7 separate regions of the Homo sapiens genome follow, and regions 2, 3, 4, 5, 6 and 7 are each linked to region 1. The links are contacts of gene promoters, found by promoter capture Hi-C in blood cells and fetal thymus (Javierre and others, 2016). All regions are on one chromosome and are shown on one strand. Each heading gives the region's core, a stretch centred on a gene start or on the middle of the fragment in contact. The rest is flanking DNA. Distances are from core to core; before and after follow the strand shown.

Region 1 (2,545 bases), core at 16-2,515:
ATAACATGGTCACCCTTTCAATTAGGATCTGTTGACTAAAAGCAGCAGCTTGTCCATAGTAGAGCTGGATAAACAGTGCAGGTTCTCCGTCAGGGCTCTCCTCCTCTTCCCTCTACTCACTCTCCAACCAGGAGTCTAGGACAACCACAGGGGCCAGCCGTGGAGCAGAGTTGCGCTCTGTTAGGCCTTCCTACCAGACCCCAGCTCCACCAGCAATGGGGACTCCCACAGTCTCTTGGGGCAGGTCCATGGGAGGCCACTCTTGGCCATTATTCCCTGATTCATATCACCTTTGATGACAGTAGTAATAATGACACTAATGGCAACACAAGATCATTTTTTAAGCACTGATTATGTGGCAGGCACTACACCTGCCAAGCAAATGGCTCGACAGGCATCACCTCTTTTAATCCTCACCCCAACTCTGTTGGGTGGATATTACTAGCCCATTTTACAGATGGGAAAGCCGGTGAAATCACTTTACCAAGGTCACACAGCTAGTCAGTTTACAGGGCTGGATTTGAATCCAGTTTTGTCCAACTCTAGCCAAGGTTCTTAATCATTGCACTCCATTGCCTCCTGGGTGGCCACTATGTGACCCAAAAAGCAAAGTCTGGGCATACCGGCTACACTCTCTCCATAATGAAAACAAACTCTCAAACCAGAAGGAACCATCAGGTGCCCTCAAGGTCCCTGTTCTCCACCAATCCCCACTAACGGGATACTCCAAGTGGCCCCACCCTCGTCCTACTCTTTCAGAAAACTCCTTACCTGTTCTTCACACGCTCTACAAAGTACATGGCGCAATGCTACTGGCAATTGTGGTGCAGGTCGCGGCTCCCAGCCCTCCAGAGTGTCAGGTGGTGGGCCCCCCAGAGACCCTCTCCGAAGGAACCCACCCCACACACTGCCCCTGGCCAGACACCCTCAAGAGCAAACCCCAAGGCCGCGTTAGAACGAAATCCCACCAGCTGGAACCCCGGCCCGGTTACCACGACCACCAATGCCCCGGCCGCACCTGCAGCCGCTGAGCGTCCCAGGGACGGTGACGTCCTCTTCCAACACCAAGTCCATCATGGCTACAGAGGTGGCGACAGCGTTGGTGTCTGTGGCGGCGGCGCCACTAGTACCCCCCGCGATAGCGACCCGCCGGGCTCCCCAGGTCCCCGCCCCCTCCACCCCAGCTCTTGTTCAGACTCTGGCGGCGCCGCTGGAATTCAAACCACAGACGCCGCCATCTTTCCCGGCGCTTCTTCCTACGGAAACGAGGCGGGGTCACGGAGGCGCACGCAGTGAAGCCGACCGGCTGGCGCCAGAGGACGGGCAGGGAAGCGGGGATAGGTGCCATCTTAACTAAGGGCAAAGCATCCGTGCTTAAGCCAAGCAAAAATAAGAGACAAAAAAAGGCCGGCTGCCATTTTTTGTGAGGGCACTTAGGGAGAGGCGAGGGCGGGTGCCATCTTTGTTGAGGGCCAAAGCGGGCCCTAGTCCGTTAATTTACGCGGGAGATGGAAATGAATACAGCCACTCAGGAATCCTCAAAGTTCCTAACCTCGTGTTTGCTTTTCTAGAATAATGACCCCAAAACTTTGGGATTTGACCTTAAGTTGAAACTCAGATAACTGAGTGCTGCCTTGCTTTGGAAAAATACTACGTGCGGAATCTCAAGGCAAACAGTAATTTGCAGACTTAGTTTGAAGCAAATAACTCATTCCCATGAGCCAGTGGTCAACAGCACTCCCACTCCAGTCTCTCACCTATTGGTCTTTTATTACCATTAGGACTCAAAGGCACCTGTGGTCAGAAAACTGAGGGCCAGCAAGAGGAAAGGACTCTCCCAAAGTAATTAAGTATTGACAATGTCTTTCAACTGGAGTGGGGGTCTGCAGCTCCTGCCAACTAGATGAGGGCTCTCTGCATAACCCTGGCTGCCTTTCTTTTTTTTTTTTTTTGAAATGGTGCCTCTGTCGCCAGGCTGGAGTGCAGTGGCCCGATCTCAGCTCACTGCAACCTTCACCTTCTGGGTTTAAGCGATTCTTCTGCCTCGGCCTTGCGCCACCACACCCGGGTAATTTTTGTATGTTTAGTAGAGACGGGGTTTCACCATGTTGGCCAGGATGGTCTCAATCTCCTGACCTCGTGATCTGCCCACCCCGGCCTTCCAAACTGCTGGGATTACAGGCGTGAGCCACAGCACCGGCCCCTTGGCTGCCTTTCTTAAAGCACATAGCAATCACCAAACACTTAGATAATCTTGGCAGAGCTTAAGCAATGAAATTAACCTTCCCCTCCTCAACTCAGTGTTGCTCCTTCCTCTGCAGGCCCTTGTGAGAGAGCCCGATGAAAATAACTTGAAATGGTTGGTGAGTGGATAGATAGTGACTTTCCCAGTAATCTTGAACAATTCCCCTTTCACCCTGTTTCCTCATTCTTTTTTTTTTTTTTTTAAATAGAGACAGGGTCTCACTATGTTGCCCAGGCTGGTCTTGAACTCCTGGCCTCAAGCAATCCTCCCACCTTGGCCTCCCAAAGTGCTGGGGTTATA
Region 2 (2,545 bases), core at 26-2,525, 820 kb after region 1:
CCCCAGCAAACCAGGACAAATTGGTCATGCTAGCCTAATATGAATGGGCGGACAGATTAGTGACAGGAGCTTATCGGCATAAGCACTGAAACACCTTCTGGGATAACCATGACCTGGCAAGAGAGCCTTTAGTGGTGCAAAGAAATGGTGATCCTTGATAATGCATGGTAGTTGCTATTCAAATCTACCTCCCAATGGATCCAATCTGGGGTCCCACGGAGAAAGGAGGCTGGAAGTAAAATACGAAAGAACTGTTTCACTAATCTGTGACCCCGTTTAACAGAGTGTAACTCAGAGAGGACAGATTCTTTCTCACCGTGGACTACCCCACAGCTCTGGAAACCTGAGGGCTTTAGTACATTGGGAGATTCAGTTAAATACAGGTTGGGGGAGTTCCAAGGGATGGAGAGGGTGGGGAAAGGGAGAAGGAGGAACTGGTAACCTGTACTGGTACAAGAAAAACTAAAATACTTAGCAGAACAGAATAACATCTGTGCAGTGGGGTATAAGTCAGTGAAATATGAGTTATTACAGCACAGGTGACATCAGCAGGCTTTTCTTGAAGCAATTCCTTTCAGAAGGAAAGAATGTGTTGATTACTTTCTTTGTTATGTTGCGCCATCTACTGGTAACTCTCATGTACTTTTTTCCTAGTTAGATGTTTAAAAGAAGACAGATGAATTAAAAACTTGAGAACTGTTTCCAAAGTCGTCATTTATTCGTTCGTTCGTTCATTCATTCATTCATTCATTCACTTCACAAATACTGAGTGAGTATGTATACCTTCTATATTGCAGTTACATTTCTAGGCATTGGGGTTACAGCTGTGAACAAAACTGAAAGAACCCTGAACTCATGGAAGCTTACTTTGATGAAAGAGTACATTTCATTTTTTTCCCATGTGAATGTTCTGTTTTCAAAGCACCATTTACTGAAAAGATTATTTTTTTTTCTTTAGGACTCTGCAGTGCCGTTACTGTTATATATGAAGTGTCCATTTATATGTGAGTCATTGCCTATCTTGGTTATGCTCCATTGATTTATTTGTCAATTTCTGTGACAATATCATATTGTCTTTATCATTTTACTTTATAATCATTGTTAATATTTAGTACATCAAGAACTCCCACCTCATTTTTTAAAAGAATGTTTTGGATAGTCTTGGCCTTTAAATTTTCCATAAAGTTTAAAATCAGTCTGTCAAATTCTGTCAAAAAAAAAAAAACCCTCCTGGGAATATTTATTGGGATTGAACTGAATCATTAAATCATTTTAGAGTGAACTGATATTTTTATACTATTGAGCCTTCCAATCACGATTTACTTCAGTTTTCCTTAGTGTCTTTCAATAGACATAAAAGTCTTATATATCTTTTGGTACACTTATTTGTAGATACTTGATTTTTTTAGGCTAAAAAGGCATCTTTAAAAAATCATTTGCTAACAATTATGGCTGGTGTTTGGAAATGTAACTACTTTTGTCATATTGATTATTCATCTAGGGATTTTGCTAAATGCTCTTATAATTCAAATAAATCTCTTTTTCCTACATATACAATTTATCATTTGTAGATAATTATACCATTAATTTGTTTTTCTTATCCTTCATGTACTAGTTAGAAGCTCTAGTACAACACAGAATAGAAATGGTGATATTAGGCACCCTTTAATTGTTCCTGACTTTACAGGAAAAGCTTTTGACATAAAACATTACTTTTCTTTGGTTTTCTACAGATACTTTTTATTAGATTAAGAACTTTCATTCTATTTCTTTTTTCTTAAGTGTTTAAAAATCTTGAATGGATATTAAGTTTTATCAAATGCTTTAGAAATTTTGCATCTATGTAGAAATACTGTAACTTTTTTTCTGCTTGAATCTCTTAATGTGGTGAAGAACTGGTACCAATTCTACTGAAACTATTCAAAAAATTTGAGGAGGAAGGACTCCTCTCCAACTCATTCTATAAAGCCAGCATCACCCTGATACCAAAATCTGGCAAAGACATAATGATAAAAGAAAGCTACAGGCCAATATCTCTGATGAATGTATGTGCAAAAATCCTCAACAAAATACTAGCAAACTGAATCCGAAGCACATTAAAAAGTTAATTCATCATGATCAAGTTGGTTTCATTCCTGGGATGCAAGGTTGGTTCAACATACACAAATCAATAAATGTGATTCACCACATAAACAGAATTAAAAACAAAAACCATATGATCATCTCAATAGACACAGAAAAAGCTTTTTATAAAATTCAACATCCCATCATGATAAAAGCCCTCTAAAAAATAGTCACCAAAGGAACATACCTCAAAATAAGAGCCATCTATGATAAACCAGCTAACATCATACTGAAGGGGCAAAAATTGGAAGCATTCCCCTGGAGAATTGGAACAAGACAAGAATGCCCACTCTCACCACTCCTATTCAACATGGTAATGAAAGTCCTTGACACAGCAATCAGGTGAAAGAAAGAAATAAAAGACATCCAAATAGGAAAAGAAGAAGATAGTTTGACTTCTTCTTTGCTGATGATAGGAATC
Region 3 (2,545 bases), core at 26-2,525, 800 kb after region 1:
TGACAGAATGAGACTCCAATTCAAAAAAAAACAAACCAAACCAAAACAAAAAAAACCTGTTTTGAGAAGTCAGCAATGGTCAGTTCAATATTGGCCATTAAGTAATGCAAGCATTGTAATGTAAGGTTTGATTATTGTATTTGTGTTACCTATCATTTTACAGTACTAAATTCCCATAAGCCATGACAAGTTACCTTTACAAGTTACATTCATGTTTTACCTTTCTTTATATTGACTATTCTCTGTTTATAGAGAAGAGGTGAATGAGTGAAATATTAGCTACTATAAAATAATGGCTACCATGTCCATAAAATAATAGACTGCCTGGTCTACTAGATGCCAGTAATCATATTAATAGCTTTATATAATTATCTCCTTTAATCTTTGCAAAAAGTCTGCATTATAGTTCTCAGCCCTCTTCTAAATTGAGGGAACTAAGGTTCAAAGAGATCAACTAATTTGGTCAAAGTCACACAGGAAGGCAGTACAGAGTAATAGTTAAATGCACAGTCTTTGTGGCCTAATTCCCTGTGTTAGTATTCTTGTTCCACCATTTCCTAAATCTGTGACCTTAGGCAAGTTATCTAACTCCTTTAATGTCATTTTTCTCATCTGTAAAATGAAAGACTAAGTGAAATAATTCATGTAAAGTGCTCAGCACAGTGGCTGGTACAGAGTGAGTACTTCATAAATGTTAGTGGTTATTAAAAGTAATTGTATATTACACAGTCATTGTATATTCTTTTTATTATTACAAATAGGTGACAACATGGATTTAAACTTAAGTCTCCCTGGCCCTGAAGTTCCCTTCTTTTCCTTTACTCAACTCTCTCTGTGTAAATTTTTAGTCATTGGTGAAGAGAGAACTGATTCTCCTAAATGGCTTTACCTCTGTGAAAAAACAGATTTGCCAGTTTATCAGTCAGGTTAGGCTAGGTTTGCTGCATTAATGAACAACTTTTATATATCCTTAGTTTATCACAAACAAGTTTATTTCTCATTTCCATTTTATGTCCTATGTGGCTTGACTGGGAGACTTCTTTCATTATAGTCACCCAGGAATCTAGGCTGAGGGATGCTCCATTTGCCGTATGTTTTATCATGGCCAAGGCAGAAAAAAAGGGAAATGGTGACTTCTGCACTGGTTCTTAAATATTTCTTTTTAGAAGTGACAAGTGCCACTGCTGCTTATAATTTCATTGGTCAAAGCCAGTAGCATGACCAGGTCTAACTTCAAGGGCTTTAGGAAAGAGAGGAGAATTAGACATAAGTGAGCAGCATTAATAACTACCACAGCGGCCAGGCACGGTGGCTCACGCCTGTAATCCCAGCACTTTGGGAGGCTGAGGCGGGCGGATCACGAGGTCAGGAGATTGATACCATCCTGGCTAACACGGCAAAACGCCATCTCTACTAAAAATACAAAAAAAATTAGGCAGGCGTGGTCGTGGGCCCCTGAAGTCCCAAAAACTCAGGAGGCTGAGGCAGGAGAATGGCGTGAACCCGGGAGGTGGAGCTTGCAGTGGGCAGAGATGGCGCCACTGCACTCCAGTCTGGGCGACAGAGCGAGACTCCGTCTCAAAAATAAAATAAAATAAAATAACTACCACAGCAAATTGAACTTTTTGAGTTTCCTAATTTGATATTTCTCTTTTTGATTTCTAAATTTCTTCTTATGTGTATAGATTCACTTGGTAAAAACCTAAAGATAACTTCATAGAAATAGTTCTCTTTCAGAGAGGTCCATCGGAATTATCTGGATACAGTTTCCAAAATGATGTGCCCAGGCCCCACTCAAGACTTAATGAATTGAAATATATGAGAGTCAGGCTCTGGGCGTGTACATTTTGAAAAACTCCTCGGATGGTGCTGGCTTGCACTCTGTTGTGTTTATGCAATAGTAAACCGATACGTGTTTTCAAGGATCTTGCTGAAGACAGATGGGAGGAAGCAGAGCTGAAAGGATCAGAAAGAGGAAGGGACAAGGTAGAAATTACGACTCAAGTGTGGCAGGGTTCTGAGCTCAGACTTAAGCTGTACTTACCTTAGAAGTTCACATTGGGAGATATATCTGGGCATGCCTAGATGACTGGTGGGTCAGTCATCAGAGTTCCCTTTTTATAAGGTAACATGGATCCTCCTGGGAAAAACTTCATCTTAAATTGAGAGACTTTTTTCCCCAATATTTAATTGAAAAATTTTTAATCATACGGAAGGTTGAAAGAATTTACCCATCATTTAGATTTGATAGGTGCTATCATTTTGCTGTATTTGCTTTATTTGCTAATTTTTATAGCCACTGATGATCATTACCTGAATCAATTATTTCACTGAGGAGTGGGCATTGGCAAATGGTGATTTTTCCGATGTATCATTTCTTCTACAATTATTATCTACATTCTTCTATTAAAAGAGAACTTCCCTTTATCAATTGGAGATGAAGTAAATTTTCCTAAAAAGACATCATAAATGCTTCATTATTTTAATTTGGAAAGAGTTTTCAGGAACCTATGTTTGGTTTAAGGACAGTTGACCTACATTGTAG
Region 4 (2,545 bases), core at 34-2,533, 780 kb after region 1:
GATCTACATGAGGACAAGCCAAAAAGTTCAGCCCAGTTTTTTTTGTGTCAGTTCCCATGTCACATTGTGTTTTTGAGAACCCCAGATGTGTATATGGGATTGCAAATCACCAGGAACAAGGAATTAAGTACACATTTTGAAAACTGGATTTGGTCTTTCACATATCAAATGCTTGGCTAGAAATAATCAGTGTATACACTGGGAAAATGGCACTTTCATATTTTTCTAATGACTTTAAAATGAAAGTATCCTACCTTCACCTCTCAAAATTCTTCCCCACCTGGTTACCCCTCAAAAAGGTACACAGTATCTAAGTTGGGAATGCATCACTAGAGTTCTGAGACTGAAATCTGATGTTTTTACAGAGGAAGCCCTCTTAATTCCAGCTGTGTCTATTTATAGCATGTTGTGCTATAAATGCATAGCTCAGAGGTGAGGCTTAAACTCTAGCAGGCTTATAAATGAACCCTTAGTCATCTACCACTTCTGGGAATAAGAGAAAAGAAATTCTCACTCACTAAAATCTCAGGAAATTCATTTCCTTCAAGTTTCCCATGTATTACTTTAGGACTGAATCCTTCCTACCAGTTTTATGGGGAAAGGGACAAATAGTGATATTTTGGTTAATACACTTGTGGACTTTTTTTTTTTTTTTTTTTTTTTTTTTAGATGTAATCTCACTCTGTCGCCCAGGCTGGAGTGCAGTGGCGAGATCTCGGCTCACTGCAAGCTCTGCCCCCTGGGTTCACGCCATTCTCTTGCCTCAGCCTCCCCAGTAGCTGGGACTACAGGTGCCCACCACCATGCCTGGCTAATTTTTTGTATTTTTAGTAGAGACGGAGTTTCACCGTGTTAGCCAGGATGGTCTTGATCTCCTGACCTCGTGATCCTCCGGCCTCGGCCTCCCAAAGTGCTGGGATTACAGGCGTGAGCCAATGCACCCGGCCACTTGTGGGTATTTTGCTGGTTGAGAATGTTCCTAAAAATTAGGGATCCTATGATACTTGGTTGTAAATACTACTTTGCCATAGTTTAGAGCAATGGTCCCCAACCTTTTTGGCACCAGGGACCAGTTTCGTGGAAGACAATTTTTCCACAGGAAAGGGTTGGGGAACATGGTTTTGGGATGAAACTGTTCCACCACAGATCATCAGACATTAGGTTCTCATAAGGAATACACAACCTAGATCCCTCATATGTGCAGTTCACAATAGGGTTTGTGCTCTTATGAGAATCTAATGTTGCTGATCTGATCCGTCTGTGGCCTGGGAGTTGGGGACTCCTGGTTTAGAGTATTTTTTTTTCTTTTATTACCAAAATGGCAGTAGAATAAACTTTTAACTAATCAAAGAAGGGTCTGAATATGGACATAAGCCTGTACATTTGAATTTTTGTATTGAACATTCAAGTTGGGCTTACCTCCAGGAAACTCACATACATTTTCTAAAATTGCTTTTTTACTTTAAAAGCAAAAGTTACTATAAAAATTAGAAATGATAGCTCAACAAACAGAAACATTATCTATACTTTATCTCTGGATGTTTTTTGCCTTGATATACGTCTTTTAAACCTTTTCTAGCCTGTATTTTTTCAATAATGAAAGAATGGTATACACAGTGATTTAAAATCTTCTCCCTCCCATCCATGTTATGAACATTTTTTCATATCAGCACATATTCTTTATCATTATTAAAGATTAATTAATTAATTCCATTTTATATGATGAAATCTGTTGTGTCCAAATTTCTCACTTAGAAACTGCTGCATTGAATATATATTTAGCAGTGTTTCTGTACCTGCTTATTTCCTGTGTAAGTTAATTTTTCTGAAAAGATGAAATTATACAACTCTTAAAATTCTCTCATTCTGAAGGTATCTTTTGTTACTACTCCTAATAACTACCATTTATGAATTCCTATGACATGTTAGCCACATGTAGCTCCTCCTTACATACATGAGTATTTATAATGTTTACAAAAATCTGTGAAGTAGGTGTTAAAATATGCCTCCTGAAGTTCTAAAGTAATAAGGCTAAAGACCTTGTAGGAAGAAACAAAAGAAAACCAAGCAAACCATGAAACAAATGAAATTTGTTGTGTAGTAATTTTTGTTGGGTAAGTTTCTGGAAAGGCAGTTAAACATTCTTTCCAAGATGACAACACAGGCTGATTAGTCCAGAGGGCTGTAGTTGTCCCCGTTCCCCATCAGCTGATTTACTTTCAGATCTATTAACCTTAGCACTACTGGAAATCATGTGGAGTAATAAATCCACTCATCACTGAGATTTTATTATTGTAAAGTTCAACAGATAACTGGATTTCCTCTGCTGAGAATCTGACTGTGAGTCATAAGCATTATCCTACACAATAAGAAAGGATGGGCTAAGGAATTACTGAAATACCTAAACTGCCACTTTTTAACGGACACTTTTTTCCTTCTGCCTTCACAGAGTGCAAATAAAACACTTCATGTTGTAAATTGATGAGAGCAGTCCTGCCTGGATGGGGCAAGACAGAAAGGCTGGAAGTTTAGTCTCAAAAACACA
Region 5 (2,545 bases), core at 23-2,522, 760 kb after region 1:
GAACAGGAGTTCTGGAGTCAAATGGACTTGAGTTCAAATCCCAAATCTAACATTTACCAGCCGAATGTCCTCAGAGAGGTTACTGAACATCCTGAACCTCAGTTTCCCATTCTTAAAGCAGACTAACATGTACTTCAGAGGACCACTTGTGAGGAAGACAGAGAAAGTATATAAAGTGTTAAATGAATAAAGGGGGCTATTATAGAGGAATGGCAAGTGACAAGACCTGATTTTTGGGTCCAACTATGCTTTAATGCACAAAAGATTCAAGGTAGTTACTTTAATTCATAATCCTAGAAGAAGGAAAGGTATTAAGACACCATAATTATCAAGATTAAAAGTACAATTTCTCCAGGTTATTATCCTCACTTGAATCTTGAATAATTAATGGTCCATAATACTCCATGAATATCAGAATTGGAGGTGATGGTCTTATGCCCAGTGAGATTTCATTCACTCACACAGCAAAATTTGGGGGCCTTCTAGGGTTAATAAGCCCTGTGTAGGAAAAGCTAAGGATAGAGTGGAATCCCTAGCCTTCTTCAGCTCCTGGTCAGGTAGGGAAGGCAGACATGGAAGTAGATCATTTCATTCTAGTGTGATAAATGCTGACAGACATATGTACAAGGCACAGTGCAAGCAAACAGAAGAAAGCAACTTTTCCAGAGGGTGACGTGGTGAGGTTATAGAAGTTGAATATTAAATGATAAAATGTTTGCTGTTTAGAAAAAGATGAGGAAGAATATTTTGGGCAGAACACATGAAACGGTACTGAGGTATAAAAATGGTATATTCCAGAAAACTGTCAATGGCTGAATACTATGGCAGGAAGAGGGGAAAGGTGGGGGATGAATGGGGCCGGGTTCTGAAGGGCAGTGAGGGCCAGGGTGTTTGGTCTTCATTCTGTAGGCAATGGGAAGCTGCAGAATGATTTTAAGCAGGTAAGTAAACTCCATCAGATCTAGTTTGAAAAAGCTCTCTGACAGATGTCTGAGGTTAGAAGAGAAGGCAGTGAAAGCTGCTAGTGGAACTGCTTTAGAGTGGCCGGTGCGATTCATAGGTGGTGGGGACAGAGAATGAAATGGTTTGGGGAGCTATTCTCCCTCCCCGAAGGAGGGCGAATCAGTGGAATTTGGAGACTAGGTAGGAGGAGGAAAGGGGGACACAGGCTGAGACCCAGGTTTCCAGGTTTTGGTTGCATAGATTAGTGCCATTAATGGAGATAGGATACAGAATATAGTACTCACTGAGAGAAAGGATCCAGCTTATAGGATAAAAACCTTAATTTATCAAAGCCACACATCATGTCCTGCCTAGGTCTGTGAGAAGGGACAAGTGCCAGCTTTGCTCAAAGAAAACCACAGAACTGTATTCCAAGGTAGGCACTACAGAGAATACATCAGAAATCCCCTGCTATGAGAGCAGCAGGCTCTCATTTTTTCCATATCATCTCAGATGTCCAATTAGGCACTTTTTTCTTTGGACATGGACCAACTGAAAAGATATCTCATTTCCCACCACCAATCAATACACAATCGCTTGGCTGAGAAGCCAGACCCACCGGGCTGGGCACACATTTTGTTCATAGAAAAGCCACACTGAGCAAGCTGCCAAAGATGTAAACAACACCACCGGCTTTGTCTAAATACAGGCCAAGTACACTCCGTTGATAGGATCTTAGAGAGCAAAGCAAGCTATTTGTGGGTGTGCACGGCTTTTGTCGAATGTGCAGTAATCTCATAGCAATCAACATTTCATATTTATAGAACATCATTTTAAAGTCTGGCATTTTCATGTATGTGAAATTGGTGCTACCTGTCCCTTCTGCAGACCAGGTGGTCTGGGCAGAGGAAAAGGCAGAGAAAGGTGATCTGTATTTCTGCACTCCATCCTCTCAATTAATAGACTTCTACACCCAGAAACATGAGCCCAAAAGCATGTGCCAGGTGTTTTTCTGAGAGTTATGAAAAGGAAATAAAAGCTGATGCAAACACAAAAGATATTACATTTCAGGCCACTAAGAGCTGGTCTAAACACTTTAAAAACCAAACCTAACATACAGAGAAACACGTAGGAGAATCTGTCCTCTTCTGTGACCGGCTTCTTTCACTCAAATTATGTGTGTGAGCACTTACATTCATTCTCTTTGCTATGTAGTATGCCTACATGTGAATAAACCAGACTTCATTCATTCAGCTAGGAATGGACATTTGGGTATTCTACAGTTTGGGTCAATGTGCTGCTGTGAACATTCTAGTACATGCCTTTTGGTAAACATATGAGTGCATTTCTGTTAGATTCATACTTAGGAGTTGGAGCTGCTGGCTCATAGGGTATACAAATGTTCAGTATGAATAGACATTGCCAGACTGTTTTCCACAGTGGTTGTATTAAGTTACACTGCCACCAGCAGAATATGAGAGTTCTAGTTCCTCTCTCACCCACACTTGGTTCTTTTCCGTTCTTTTCAGGCCATTCTGATAGCTGTCTAGTGTGACATCCGCTTATAATGTGAATTTGCATTTCCCCGATGGCTAATTAGCCT
Region 6 (2,545 bases), core at 31-2,530, 690 kb after region 1:
GCATGGAAGGGAGCTTTAAAACACCCAGAACTCATTCTGGGCTGTCCTGAGGGTAATTGGACTTTGTGGAAGGCGGGGCCTCTGGGGAGGTGCCTTTCGCTTTTGTTTGGCATCTGGGGACTTTTCAAACACTTAATCCTGTGTGTCCTGTTCTCCCAGGACCACATTTCTGACCAGGGCACCAGGACCTCTCACCGCTCTGCCGTTTACAGCGACCATAGCTTGCTAGAATCTTACCCCATCTCCATTTCCTCCATTTCACAGTTGAGAAAAGTCAAGGACCCAGAGAGTTTATGATGGGCTAATTGTCACACAGTGAGGCAGGGTAGGGCTGAGACCCAATTCCGGTCTGCCGTTTGCGGACTCCTTGCTGGGAGGGACTCTAGCCTCCTTCTTGGGTGTTCCGTTTACTAAAGGGACAAGCATTCCCTGTACATACACACTTGGGGGTGCTGGTTGGTGTTTCTTGGGGCTGTTAAGGGGGAGAGGCTTGGAAACAGAGGAGGAAGGATGGGGGTGGGAACGGTCGGCTTTCAGCTCCTTTGAAACTCCATTTTTCTTTCTGGGGCCATGCTATTTATAAATGCCAGGGAAATTGTAAACAGCCAGGGGAGCTTGGGTTGGCACTCGGTGAGTTACACAGCAGCAAAGAAGGTTTCTGTGTGAATCAGGGGAGGAAAGTTTACTCCAGAATTTTCCACAGTCCTTTTATTAGGGACTAACATGAGCCTGGAAACAGGCTGCTCCCAGGAGGGGTGGCTGCAGGGTTTGCCCCGCATGGCATTTCCTTCCTCCCCGCCTCCCTCCTTTCAGCACTTCTCTGGGCCTGTGTTCTGTGCCTTGCCCTGCGAGGGGCCAAAGAGCCTTGGAAGAGGACAGAGCTCTCTGTCCTCAAGATGCTTGCCATCTATACTGTTTGACACTTTTGTGCCATATTAAGAGTGACTTCAGCCTGCAAGAGGAGTGACTAATTTTGTCTAGGTGAGCCAGACCTCAGAATGAATAATCATTTACCAGGAGAAACAGGAGTTGGGGGAAAAGACATTCTGGGAAGCAGGAACCACTAGTGCAAAGGCACTGAGATTTTCTGAGCCATCCATGTGGCTAGAGTGGAGGATGGGAGAAGGGCGGGGTGGTGGGAGGTTGAGAATCTAAATGAAAATGGAACTAGATTATAAGCTAAGGGTTTGGACCTCATCCTGAAGGCAATGAAGAGCTGAGAAAGGGTTTTGACAGAGCAGTGATTTTTAAAAACTCGTTATTCTGAATGGCTGATGTAGGGGATGCATTGAACGAGGCTGATCTGGAGGCAGGAAGGCCCTGAGGAGGCTGTTGCATGATTCAAGTGAAGTAGATTGCAGGTCTGAACTAGAGCAGTGGCCACTGGGATGGGTCAGAGCAGCAGATTCTGGAAGCCCAGCTGAAGGTCTCAGAACCTGCTATAAATTTCATCTAAAAGCAGACAACAGGCTAGACCTACTGGAGAAGGTTGCTAAGGTATTCAGCATTGTAACTTTTTTTTCTTTTTCATGAGTTTTAAAACAAACAAAAATTGTTAAAGAATCCCTCCAAGCCCGCCTCTTTCCCCAGAGGTCGCCACTGTTAACAATGGTGTGTGCACTCCTGCCAAACACGTTGATTGGATGCCTTCACTTTTAGCCATCCAGTGACAGTGGGTCACTTTCCCCTACTCCATGTGAATAGTTTGGGTCATTTGTGATGTGGGTCATAGAGATGATTTCTGCTTGGTCTATGGTACGTTGCTGAGACACTGAGCTCTGGTTTTCTTTAAGAAAACTTTTACATCCTGTGTCTGCGGCCTCTGGGTGTGTATATTTGCTTATCAGAGACCACAGGTGTGAGAGAAGTTAGAAGCACTGACTTGGAAATGGACCCCCAGTCTTGGTTCTTTGGGTGACCTTGGGCAAATCCTATCTCTCTGAGCCTCTGGTTCCTCATGTGTAAAATGGAGAGATGTTGGTTTGCATGATAATAATAAAAAGCTATCTTTTAACTGGGCATGGTGGCTCACACCTGCAGTTCCAGCATTTTGGGAGGCCGAGTTGGGTTGATGGCTTAAGCCAGGAGTTTGAGACCAGCCTGGTCAACATGGTGAAACCCTGTCTCTACTGAAAATACGTGCTGGGATGCTCCTGTAATCCTAGCTACTTGGGAGGCTGAGGTATGAGAATTGCTTAAACCCTGGAGACGGAGGTTACAGTAAGCTGAAATCACGCCACTGCACTCCAGCCTGGATGACAGAACAATACTGTCTCAAAACAAAAAAAGAAAAGACAAAAAAAGCTATCTTTTAATATACCAAGCACTGGAACATTAATTACTTTATTGATTCCTTGCAACCATTCCTCTGAGGTAGATACTAGTATCTTCTTTTACAGATGAGGAAACTGAGTCCGAGGCTGAATAACATGCCCCGGGTTGTGTGGCTATTGGGTGATGGTGCAAGGATTCCAGAGGTCTGACGACAGAGCCATAGCTATTAATGACAGCACTAAACATTCTCTTGAAAATTCTTTCTAGTCCT
Region 7 (2,545 bases), core at 20-2,519, 640 kb after region 1:
TCCAAGATCAAGATGTCCAAGCGTTGCATTCTTCTGAGGGTTGGTTTCTTCCTTGGCTTGTGGATGACTGTCTTCTTCCTGTGTCTTCACATGGTCTTCCCTCTGTTTGTGTCTGCATCCTAATTTCCTCTTCTTTTTTTAGTTCTGGGTTTTGTCTTCCACTTTATTTAGATTTTTAAAGTATTTTTCTAACTTAAGGAGATTTCTTTTTTAAAATTCAACTTTGGCTGGGCACATTGGCTCACGCCTATAATCCCAGCACTTTGTGAGGCCAAGGCGGGTGGATCACAAGGTCAGGGTGGATCACGAGACCAGCCTGGCCAACATGGTGAAACCCTGTTTCTACTAAAAATACAAAAAAAAATTAGCTGGGTGTGGTGGTGGGCACCTGTAATCCCAGCTACTCAGGAGGCTGAGGCAGGAGAATCATTTGAACCTGGGAGGCGGAGATTGCAGTGAGCCAAGATCGCACCATTGCACTCCAGCCTGGGCAACAGGGCAAAACTCCGTCTCAAAAAAAAAAAAAATAACTTTTATTTTAAGTTCAGGAGTACCTGTGCAGATTTGTTACAGAAGCAAACTTCTGTCCTGGGGGTTTGTTGTACAGATTATTTTGTCACCCAGGTATTAAGCCTAGTACCCATTAGTTCTTTTTCCTGAGCCACTCCCTCCTCCCAACCTAAACCCTCCAATAGGCCCCTAATCTCCTTTTCTTATAAAGATACCATTCATATTGGATTAGGGCCCACCCTAGTGACCTCATTTTAATTTAATTACCTCATTAAAGACCCTGTCTCTAAATACAGTCACATTCTGAGGTACTGGGGGTTAGGACTTCAATTCAATTGGGATGTGGCTGAGTGGCACAATTCAGCCCACAACAGCCATTTCTTTAAATTTTTTAAATTTAATTAAATTTTTAAATATTTCAAATAATATAGAAATGTATTATTATTATTATTATTATTATTATTATTATTATTATAACCTCAAACAAAACAAGCCCTCCTTTCTCTGCTCTTTTCTACCCAACCGTTAATACTGCTACCAGGTCTGTTTCAAGCTTTTGCGTATATAAGGGTACATACATAAAGATATAACTTTGGTGTGTGTTTTCTCTTTTACATAAGTACGATCAAATTGTCCATATTGTTTTGCATATCCTGATCTTATTCATTCTTTTTATGTATGTGTCCAGTCTACCTCATGCCCTGACTCACAGTTTAGCTATGACTAAGCATGTTCAGAACATTTGTTGAGCTCTTAAGAAGGGTGGTCATGGAGTATAGGTCTGCTATGAATTGTCTGGCAGTCATTTAATATTGTATTATATTTTAGGTCTGTCAACCTGAAATAAACAGCAGAGAGACCAGTTCTCCAAAACAAAGAGTTTATTTGAGAATAACAGGGAATTGCGATTTTGGGTGCACATGCTGTGGTGGACCACAGGTGCACCAAAGGGGATGGGGCAAGAGGAAGCTTTTAAGAGAAAGGACGAGAGGCCAGGCTCGGTGGCTCATGCCTGTAATCCCAGTGCTTTGGGAGGCTGAGGCAGGTGGATCACTGGAGGTCAGGGGTTCAAGACCAGCCTGGCCAATATGGCAAAACCCTGTAACTACTAAAAATACAAAAATGAACCAGGCATCATGACGTGTACCCATAATTGCAGCTACTCAGGAGGCTGAGTCACGAGAATCACTTGAACTCGGGAGGCGGAGGTTGCAGTAAGCCGATAACGCACCACTGCACTCCAGCCTAGGTAACAGAGTGAGTCTCTGTCTCAAAAAAAATAAAGAAAGGAGGAAACGTACATGTAAGCTAATTTGAAAAAAAGACCATTGGTTACAGGAGCTTGTTGCAGGAGTTGGCATTAGCTTATTGGTGGAGACAGCCACTGTTGGACAAATGTCCCTGTGCAAGCCAGGTGGCTTATGTGGAATTTCTTGGATAGTTTCTGTTGTAGGCATACATGCATGAGGACCCTTCCTTCATGGCCTCCCCTCTCCATTTTGTGAGAGTTTAGCCTAAGTGACTCCATTTTGGTACTGGCAACTTTCACAAGTTTCATTTTTCTTGTATGTAAAATGGAGGACAATAATATTCATCTCCCAGGGTCCTGAAATGATCTGGTATTTGGAGGTTACCCTACCAGTTTTGTCCAAGCATCCATCCTGCATGACACCTGAAGTCCAATATCTTTATTCAGTTTCACTTCCTTGATGTTTCTCAGAGTCCTGAGGATGCTTCCTTGATGGACAGATCCACCTGGTGGGGGCCAACTCCTCTGGCCGGGCAGTTCTGCCAGGGCTCTGTGTCTGCTGCTGCTGCGCTTGCTGCTTCTCTTTACCCGGTCTCCTGACTCAGTTCCCCAAAACACACCAAATACCAGAAGGTTCAAGTTAGGGGATTTTTTTTTTTTTTTTTTAAATAGAGACTAGTCTCACCATGTTGCCCAGGCTGGTCTTGAACTCCTAGGCTCAAGTGATCCTCCTGCCTTGGCTTCCCAAGGTGTGGGATTACAGAGGGGAGCCACAGCACACCACCA

Evidence for each region. The method cuts DNA at HindIII sites, captures the fragments that hold promoters and counts their contacts. A CHiCAGO score of 5 or more calls a contact.
Region 2: a fragment that was not itself captured here is called in contact with the fragment with the promoter of CDK5RAP2 in region 1 in 8 of 17 cell types (naive CD4 T cells, activated CD4 T cells, naive CD8 T cells and 5 more); the score reaches 8.2 in naive CD4 T cells.
Region 3: a fragment that was not itself captured here is called in contact with the fragment with the promoter of CDK5RAP2 in region 1 in 3 of 17 cell types (total CD4 T cells, activated CD4 T cells and total B cells); the score reaches 7.5 in total CD4 T cells.
Region 4: a contact is called between a fragment that was not itself captured here and the fragment with the promoter of CDK5RAP2 in region 1, in 3 of 17 cell types (activated CD4 T cells, naive CD4 T cells and total CD4 T cells). The highest score is 6.5, in activated CD4 T cells.
Region 5: a fragment that was not itself captured here is called in contact with the fragment with the promoter of CDK5RAP2 in region 1 in 1 of 17 cell types (naive CD8 T cells); the score reaches 5.3 in naive CD8 T cells.
Region 6: a fragment that was not itself captured here is called in contact with the fragment with the promoter of CDK5RAP2 in region 1 in 1 of 17 cell types (activated CD4 T cells); the score reaches 6.0 in activated CD4 T cells.
Region 7: a fragment that was not itself captured here is called in contact with the fragment with the promoter of CDK5RAP2 in region 1 in 4 of 17 cell types (non-activated CD4 T cells, naive CD4 T cells, total CD8 T cells and 1 more); the score reaches 7.3 in non-activated CD4 T cells.

What each region holds. Positions count from the first base shown.
Region 1 is chr9:120,578,902-120,581,446 of GRCh38, forward strand. It overlaps CDK5RAP2 (CDK5 regulatory subunit associated protein 2), which reads right to left and starts at 1,266. Exons shown (of 38, transcript NM_018249.6): 1 at 1,019-1,266. The coding sequence starts at 1,077. RefSeq lists enhancers at 938-1,500, 1,354-1,483. The HindIII fragment of the contact is 6,111 bases long and covers 1-2,545 here.
Region 2 is chr9:121,399,708-121,402,252 of GRCh38, forward strand. All of the region lies in intron 3 of LOC102723324 (a long non-coding RNA gene), which reads left to right. Among named protein-coding and RNA genes, the nearest start is that of STOM, 31 kb to the left of the region's middle. The HindIII fragment of the contact is 831 bases long and covers 861-1,691 here.
Region 3 is chr9:121,381,986-121,384,530 of GRCh38, forward strand. The region is part of intron 2 of LOC102723324 (a long non-coding RNA gene); the gene reads left to right. Among named protein-coding and RNA genes, the nearest start is that of STOM, 13 kb to the left of the region's middle. The HindIII fragment of the contact is 3,623 bases long and covers 1-2,545 here.
Region 4 is chr9:121,360,741-121,363,285 of GRCh38, forward strand. All of the region lies in intron 1 of STOM (stomatin), which reads right to left. Among named protein-coding and RNA genes, the nearest start is that of STOM, 8.2 kb to the right of the region's middle. The HindIII fragment of the contact is 5,018 bases long and covers 1-2,545 here.
Region 5 is chr9:121,342,880-121,345,424 of GRCh38, forward strand. The region is part of intron 6 of STOM (stomatin); the gene reads right to left. Among named protein-coding and RNA genes, the nearest start is that of STOM, 26 kb to the right of the region's middle. The HindIII fragment of the contact is 9,319 bases long and covers 1-2,545 here.
Region 6 is chr9:121,269,076-121,271,620 of GRCh38, forward strand. All of the region lies in intron 1 of GSN (gelsolin), which reads left to right. Among named protein-coding and RNA genes, the nearest start is that of GSN, 2.2 kb to the left of the region's middle. The HindIII fragment of the contact is 3,100 bases long and covers 1-2,545 here.
Region 7 is chr9:121,216,853-121,219,397 of GRCh38, forward strand. It overlaps a transcript of GSN not described here. Among named protein-coding and RNA genes, the nearest start is that of RAB14, 16 kb to the left of the region's middle. The HindIII fragment of the contact is 416 bases long and covers 1,062-1,477 here.